Regions from separate parts of the Homo sapiens genome. Here region 2 is linked to region 1. The links are contacts of gene promoters, found by promoter capture Hi-C in human tissues and cell types (Jung and others, 2019). All regions are on one chromosome and are shown on one strand. Each heading gives the region's core, a stretch centred on a gene start or on the middle of the fragment in contact. The rest is flanking DNA. Distances are from core to core; before and after follow the strand shown.

What was found. Contacts are between HindIII fragments. The study calls those that stand out against the background at their distance.
Region 2: a contact is called between a fragment that was not itself captured here and the fragment with the promoter of ZBTB40 in region 1, in 1 of the 25 tissues and cell types used here (H1 embryonic stem cells).

Annotation. Positions count from the first base shown.
Region 1 is chr1:22,450,045-22,454,137 of GRCh38, forward strand. ZBTB40 (zinc finger and BTB domain containing 40) reads left to right here and starts at 1,807. Exons shown (of 18, transcript NM_014870.4): 1 at 1,807-1,960. RefSeq lists silencers at 1,052-1,346, 1,661-1,860, 2,201-2,290 and enhancers at 1,736-2,297, 2,011-2,090. The HindIII fragment of the contact is 15,295 bases long and covers 1-4,093 here.
Region 2 is chr1:22,512,747-22,516,839 of GRCh38, forward strand. It overlaps ZBTB40 (zinc finger and BTB domain containing 40), which reads left to right. Exons shown (of 18, transcript NM_014870.4): 12 at 178-384. Among named protein-coding and RNA genes, the nearest start is that of EPHA8, 49 kb to the right of the region's middle. The HindIII fragment of the contact is 7,383 bases long and covers 1-4,093 here.

The sequences.
Region 1 (4,093 bases), core at 557-3,056:
GCGATTCTCCTGCCTCAGCATCCTGAGTAACTGGGATTACAGGCACCTGCCACCATGCCCAGGTAATTTTTCTATTTTTAGTAGAGACGGGGGTTTCACCATGTTGGCCAGGCTGGTCTCGAACTCCTGACCTCAGGTGATCCGCCTGCCTCGGCCTCCCAAAATGCTCCCAAAATGCCCAGTGGCTCACACCTGTAATCCCATTAACTCGATAAATATTTCTAGAGCACCTACTATGTGCCAAGCACCCTTCTAGGTGTTTGTTTGCTAAATCTAGCAACCCTATGTTCCCACTAAAAGAGAATGTGAGGCTGGTGGAAATGAGGGCTTAGGAGACACAACAGCTGTAGGCGTGGTTCCAGTTACTACAAAAGTGACTAAATAACAGCTACAGTAAATCCGACCCTGAATGTAACGGTGACATGAGTATAATAGTGAAAGTGACTAACTGGGCACAAGGGTATGAGGACAACAGTGTACCCTGAAGGGGCCTGTTAAATACTGGCTTGACTGTGTGGCAGCAAAAGTGGCTGCATGACAATGACAGTGAAAACAACAGAAAGGGCAACAGCTGGGCAAACAAAGTGCTATTTTGAACAGAACCGTTTGAAGTTTATGGTCAATGACGGTAGCTGCATGTCAGACAGTGACAGTAAATATGATCGACCGGGAGACAGCAACAATGCAAGTGACAGTTCTGCCCAGTAGATTGAATTTGTGATGTAAAACGGTGATGGGGTGAGTCAGTCAGCCAGAGACAGCTCTCAGAACGACTGAATATTGACATTGCAGATGGAAAAGGTATAACCACAGAGGAAGCTGGACATTGCACTAAGATGGCTGGATTTGGGCACGTAACTGTCAGGGACAGAAAAAGTGGCTGCATGTCAGTGACAGGGTGACTGTGTTCAGTGGGCCAGCGCGGAGGTGACTCAGTTTGTTACTGCTGGATCTGATTTAAATGTTTGTGTAAGGAAGGGTGGCAAGGGGACGCTTCAACAGGGAACGCATAGTGTGTGAGAAGGAAAATGAGCAAAAGAAAAGCTAGGACTAAATCCCAAAGCCCCTAAATCCCAAAATTGGGAGGTGCGAGAGGCAGGATCAGGATGCCTCCAGGATGCCTTCAGCCCACTGCGCCCCACCAGCGCCAAGCCTGTCCCACAAAGAGTGCGGGCTGGGGACGCGGCTCAGGTCGCCTCTCCGCCTCGCACGTGAATGTGTTGTTTTGGAAAAACGAAGCCTTTTGTGTTCACTTCCTTGCCCTCCTTTGAAACAAAATCCTAATCCTAGAGCTGCCGGAGCGAGACTGCGGAGCTCCATTAGAACTTTCCTTAGGGCCGGGCATGGTGGGAGGCCGAGGCAGGTGGATCATCTGGGCTCAGGAGTTCGGGACCAGCCTGGCCAACATGGTGACATCCTGTCTCTACTAAAAATAGAAGAGAAAAAAAAAATTAGCAGGGCGTGGTGGCGCGCGCCTGTAATCCCAGCTACTCGGGAGGCTGAGGCAGGAGAATCGCTTGAACCTGGAAGGCGGAGGCTGCAGTGGGGCGAGATCGCGCCGCTACACTCCAGCCTGGGAAACAAGAGCGAATCTCCCATCTCAAAAAAAAAAAAAAGAAAAAAACTTTACTTAGGAAGTGTGGGGAGGGAAGGAGGGAGTGGCCAAGGTCAGAGGTCAGAGAAGAGCCTAGCAACCAGCCGGCCCCCGCCGTCCTAGCATAGGTGGAGAGCGAGCGCGTGACGCAGGCCCCGCCCCCAGCACGTGACCGCGGCGCGTGGGGCAGGTCGGGCCGCCCCCTCCCCTCTGATACCCATTGCGCGCCGGCCTCAAGATGGCCGCCTTCTGGCGTCTCCGGCGCTGTTGAATGGCGAAAGCTTTATTGTTCCCTTCGGGCAGGAGTGTTCGTGTCCTCTATGGCGCTGTCAATAAAGAACGGCAGTTTGAATCGGTGCTGAACAGGTAACCATAGAAACGGGGCTGGGACTCCGCGTGGAGACCCTTCCTGCAGCGGGGGCCCGGGTGCGCCCTAAATGAGGGGTGTATACAGACCCTTCCGCGTGGCGAACTCCGCGGGACTCGGCCGAATCACGGCCGCCTCACCTACACCCCGGACGTGCCCCCTCCAGGGGCGGTCCGCACCCCTGGCGCCGGCTCTGCTGTAGACTGCGGAGGGGAGAGACCGCGGGGACCCACTCAGGGCGCCAGGCCCGACCTGACACCGCCTGGGGCTCGCTGTCGCCCCGCACCTCCCTCTCGGCCCGTCCGGAGGCCTCTTGTCGCTGTCTCACTCCCCCTCCCTTCAGGTCCCTTCGCCGGGCGTCAGCGGACTATGGCCTTGGGCCTAATCCATGCCCCCCTTCTCTCTTCCCCTCTCGGTCTTTGTTTACAGTTGCAAATGGTTAGGGGGAAGAATATTTCATGTAATTTGCGAAAGTTCTATGAAATCAAGTCCATAAATGAAGTTTTATTGGAACACGGCCCTGTTCATTGTTGATGTATTGTCTATGGCTGCTTTCCTGCCAAGAGGGCAGAGCTGAGTAGTTGCGCAGCCGTTGCTTGGCTTTGATCGGCTGGCTCACAAAGCCAGAAATATTTCTGTCTGGTCCCTTACAGCAAAAGTTTACTGACCCCTGCCCTAAACACAAGGAGATTGGATCAGTGTTGTCATTCAGCTATTCCTCTCGTCGGTTCTTCTGGAGTGGGAAAAGAGTTAAAACTGCGCGATGCACCGAGAGCACTTTAGTTGACAGAACACTCTGGCTTCCCTTCTGGTCTTACTGACTATTCAGAGTTTCTCCTGCTTTGAATAGCGTTGGTACCATGCAGCCAGTGCTGCAATGAACCAGGTGCTTTATTTATATTCATACAAGTGTTGTTCTACTTTATGACGACGCTTTATAAGTAAGTATGGTATTTCCATTTTACAAACGAGGAAGAAATTTGTTCTGAGTGGTTAATATATGTATAGGTGTACTAGGTTATAGGGCTGCCAAATTGAGCCTGTCCCTGGGAGCCCCCTGCCTGATGGCACCGGTCAAACTGCTTTGGATTTTATTCTTTCAAGTCTTTTCTACCTGGAATTGTTTGTTCTTCCCTGGAATTGTACCCAGATCTTTGTATGGTTAATGGAGATTTAATTACAATCTCAGTGAAATTTTTTTCTACTTAGCTAAATCATCAAACTTCTGCCCCTCCTTTCTAATATAAACACTTTTCTTCTATGTCAGTAGTCCCCAAACTTAGCTATTCATTAGTGGTTTAACAAATGGTTTCAGAACACCCCATGCATGTACGCATGCATTCATTAATCATTTAGTGTTTGTTGAGCACTTACTGTGTACCAGAGACGTTTCAAATTCCTGGAAATACAGTGGTGAACAAGACAAATATGATTTCTGCCCTTCCATGGAATTTAAATTCTATGTGGGGCTTGGACAAGTGGTATACAGGTAGACAAAGATAATTTCAAATACAGCTGTAATAGCATCATCATAATAAAATTATTAGTTGCTATTTACTGAGTGATTATTTTGTGCCAGGTACTGTGCTAAGTGCTTTATTTATATGGACTATCACTTAATCCTCACACCAATACTATGACATAAGTAGTATTAATATTACCATTTTACGCATAGAGGAAACAAACTCACGTCGGAGAGATGTTCGAGGTTACATAGCTAAGGCATTCAGCTGAGAGCTGAAGCTAATCTGATCACACTGAACACCCTGTATTGTTCCATCTGTTTATTGTCTTTCCTACTAGCTTAGGAGGTCCTTAAGGGCAGGGACCACACCTTACTGTTGTTATCCTCAGCTGCTAGCCAGTACCCACAACCTGGTGTTTGCAGGTAAATACCAAGTAAACAAATCTAGGTCATTCATTGAACAAATTTTTATTTTATTTTATTTTATTTATTTTTTTGAGACAGAGTCTCGCTGTGTTGCCCAGGCTGGAGTGCAGTGGCACAATCTCGGCTCACTGCAACCTCCGCCTCCCGGGTTCAAGTGATTCTTCTGCCTCAACCTCCTGAATGGCTGGGACTACAGGCATGTGCCACGACACCCGGCTAATTTTTTGTGTGTTTTTAGTAG
Region 2 (4,093 bases), core at 438-2,937, 63 kb after region 1:
GGGTAGAGAGCAGCGTGGCTGTGTGCAGTGGGTACCAGCGTGGCCTGGCACCCTGGGCTTCATGCTGTGCTTCCTCTGGAGGCCTGGGCTGAGACAGTGCTCTTGGTATCCTGTGCTAGATTCCTAACACTGATTAGTAGCATCTCTTCTGGCCTCTGGTGTGCTTGGCTTCCCTAGGCATGCAGTACCATAAGCTGACAGAGCACTTCGATGAGAAGCCTTTCTCCTGTGAAGAGTGTGGGGCGAAGTTTGCAGCCAATTCCACCCTGAAGAACCACCTTCGCCTTCACACCGGGGACCGCCCGTTCATGTGCAAGCACTGCCTCATGACCTTCACCCAGGCCTCCGCCCTGGCCTATCACACCAAGAAGAAGCACTCAGAAGGTAAGGCGGGGCACAGTTCATTTCTCCTGCAGACTTTCACTGCGAACTGCCTAAACCCCATTTGGATTAGGTGTGATATATATCTCAAAAACAAAACAATTTGATAGCACAACAGGGTGACTAAAGTCAATAATAACTTAATTGTACATTTTAAATACAGTGTAATTTGGATTATTTATTACACAGAGGATAAATGCTGGAGGGGATGGATCTCTCATTCTCCCTGATGCAGTTATTTCATATTGCATGCCTGCAGCACAACATCACATGTACCTTGTGAATATATACACCTACTGTGTACCCACAAAAGTTAAGTATCAAAAAAAAAATAAGGCTGAGGCAGGCGGATCACAAGGTCAGGAGATTGAGACCATCCTGGCTAACATGGTGAAACCCCATCTGTACTAAAAAATACAAAAAATTAGCCAGGCGTGGTGGCGGGCACCTGGAGTCTCAGCTACTCGGGAGGCTGAGGCAGGAGAATGGTGTGAACCTGGGAGGTGGAACTTGCAGTGAGCTGAGATTGTGCCACTGCACTCCAGCCTGGGCAACAGAGTGAGACTCCGTCTCAAAAATAATAATAATAATAAATAAAATTAAAAAACAATGCACAACCTCTAGGCAAACAGACGACTGGGAATAGCTCTGTGCACAGACGTAAACTGCTTACTGGGAGAGCTTCTGAAAGAGACTGGCTAACCTCCTATGACTTTATATTAGGTCTTGTGGAAAAGTCATTGTGGTTTTTGCCATTAAAAGTTATAGAGAATTTACATAAAATTATTTGAGCTTTGAAGTCGAGTTCAAGCATGAGAAGGACCCTGACTAAGCACCTACCGTGGATCAGACAGTGGCAGATGCCGAGTGGCTGAGCTGGGATTCCTGTGTGCCCATAGCTTGTGGCCTGAAGGGGGCAGGGAGAGGGGAGTGTAGCGCCCGTTACAATGCAGATTGTCAGCGGTATAATGTGGAATAACACCAGCGTGATGAGGAAGGATGGAGAAGGGGTCTCTAGTCCAGTTGGAGGGGAGGAGGAGGTACATTGTCAGGGAAGGCTTTTTGGAGCAGCCTACCTATTGTTTAGAGCATTTCTTTATAAATTATAAGGTAACCATTGTTTGACGTGGACTGTCACAGTAGCCTCAAAGCTGGTCTTGCTTTCACCATTTCTCTTGATACTTAAAAAATAAATAAACCCTATCAGGTCACTTCTCTGCTCCAAATTCTTCAATGGCTTTTTGTCCCACTCAGTTGTGAAATCCAGAGTCCTTAAGATAGCCTCCTCAGCCCTCTGTGATTAAGGTTCCTGATTCCTCTCTGACTTCATCTCTTAGGCCTGCACATTTTAGCTTTCTGGCCAGGCCTCAGGCCCGCAGGCACCTGCTCCAGGACCTTTATTCTTACCCTTCCCTTTGCTGGGGACGCTTCCCATCAGACATCTCACGTTTCACTTCCTCACCTCCTTTGAGACCTTACTCACACTTACCTTCTCTGTGAGTCCCTTCCTGGGCCACCCTCTGTAAGGTCTCAGCACCCCACCCCTGGTTTCCATGCAGTATTTTTCTCCCATAGTGCTTCTCATATGATGTAGTATCTACTTTAGTAATTTATTTCTGCTTAGTCTTCCCTGTTAGAATGCAAGTGTCATGAGTGGCAAGCTGTTAGTCTTTCTTTTCCCACTGCTGTATCCATGGGACTTAGACTAGTACTTGGCAATAGTAGGCCTTCAATCGATATTTGCTGAGTGAATGAATTTCACAAGCATTGTTTCAGACATGGGGTATTATAAATATACGCACCCCTGTCATGGGACTTACATCCCACTGGGTAAAACTGACAATAAACAAATAAATATATAGTATAAATTTAGATAGCAGTTATTACTATGAAGAAGCATAAAGCAGGGTACACAGTGAGAGGACAGGGCTTGGGGGACACTATTTGTATCATCAGAGAAGGCCTCTGCAAGATGGCATTTGTGGAGAAACCTAAACAAAGTGAGAGATGGAGCCAGTGAAAGACCTAGAAGGAGAGCATCCCAAGTGCAGAGCTGCCTCCCCGGTGGAAACGAGCTTTACCTGCATGAGAGACCACAGAAAACTAGAAGGGGCTAAAGCAGAGTCAACGAGGAAGAGCATTAAGAGATAAGGCCAGAGATGCTAGCAAAGGCTGGACCTTGGAGGGTCTTATAAGCCAAGGTGAGGACTTTTGGTTTTTATGTGAAGTGTGTTAGTTTATCCTGCTGCTGTAACAAATTACCACAAATGCTGGCCTAAAACAACCCAAATATACTCTTTTACCATTCTGGAGGATAGCAATCCAAGATGGGTCTTGTGAGGCTAAATTCAAGCTTTCGGCAGAGTTCCTTCTGGAGGCTCTAGGGGAGATCTCATTCCTTGCCTTTCCAGCCCCTAGACGTTGCCCGCATTCCCTGGCTCTTGGCCACATCACCCCAACCTCTGCCTCCATCACCATACCTCCTTTTCTGACTCTTCTTCCTCCCTCTTATGAGGACCCTTGCGATTACATTGAGCCCACCTGGATAATCCAAGACAACCCCCCCATCACAAGATCCTTAATCCAGTCACATTCACAAAGTCCTTTTGCCATGTATGGTAACATACACACAGGTTTGAGGAATTAGGACATGGACATCTTTGGGGGCCATTATCCCGCCTACCACATGAAGCCATAGAAGGGTTTTGAGCAGAGAATGAGTGGTAGGATCTAATTTACATTTTCAGAAGTTAATTCTGGCCACTCCAGACAATGAGCTATAGTAGGGCAAGAGGGAAACAGAAGGCTGTTAGAGCCGTTCAGTGTAGAGGTGATATAGTTTTCAACTAGAGTTGTGTTAGTGGGGGTTGTAAAGAACGTTCAAGTTTTAGGATATATTTTTGAAAATGGAGGTAACAGGACTCATGGTGGATTAGATGTGGGATGTGAAGGAAAGAAAGGAACTAAAGGAACTGAAGGCTTTGGGGCTTTGCCATGAGCAACTGAGTGAATGATGCTGCCATTTACTGAGATGGGGGAGTGTGTGGATGGTGGCTGTGGGGGTGATGGGGATAGAGCATTGGAAGCTCTGTTTTGAGCTCCCAAAACAGATGAGGACTTTGGGTTTTTATGTGAAGTATGTTAGTTTATCCTGCTGCTGTAACAAATTACCACAAATAGTGGCCTATTTGATGCATTGGGAGATACCTACTAGACATCCAGGTGGAGAGCAGAGCAGTGGGGAGTTGGACATATGGGTCTGGAGTTCTGGGGAAAGGTGGGAGCTGGAGCTATACTACAGGAGGCATCCATTACAGATGGTGTATGAGGCACTGAGAGATCATCTAGAAACAGGATTGAGAACGTCAAGGACTAAGCCCCAGGCTCCTCAATAATTTCACCTCTCCATTCAAGGAACCCTTTTTTTCCTAACAGAGTCTTATTTTGCAGCCCAATACATAAACACTGAAAATGAGGCTGCTTGTCCTAGTTGTGGTAGACCCTGGGATCCGGGGTTCTGGTGCCATGCCTCACCAATTGCCCTGCTTGCTCTCTCGGCCCATAAGGGAGCTTGGAGGTTCAGTTGGTCTAGCATTTCTCACAAATGCCAGTTCTCCAGACTTGTTCTTTATCCACATTTTCTAATAATCTTTGGCAGTCTGGTCATTATATCCTCATTATATGCATGTGAAAATATAGAAACCAAGGGACA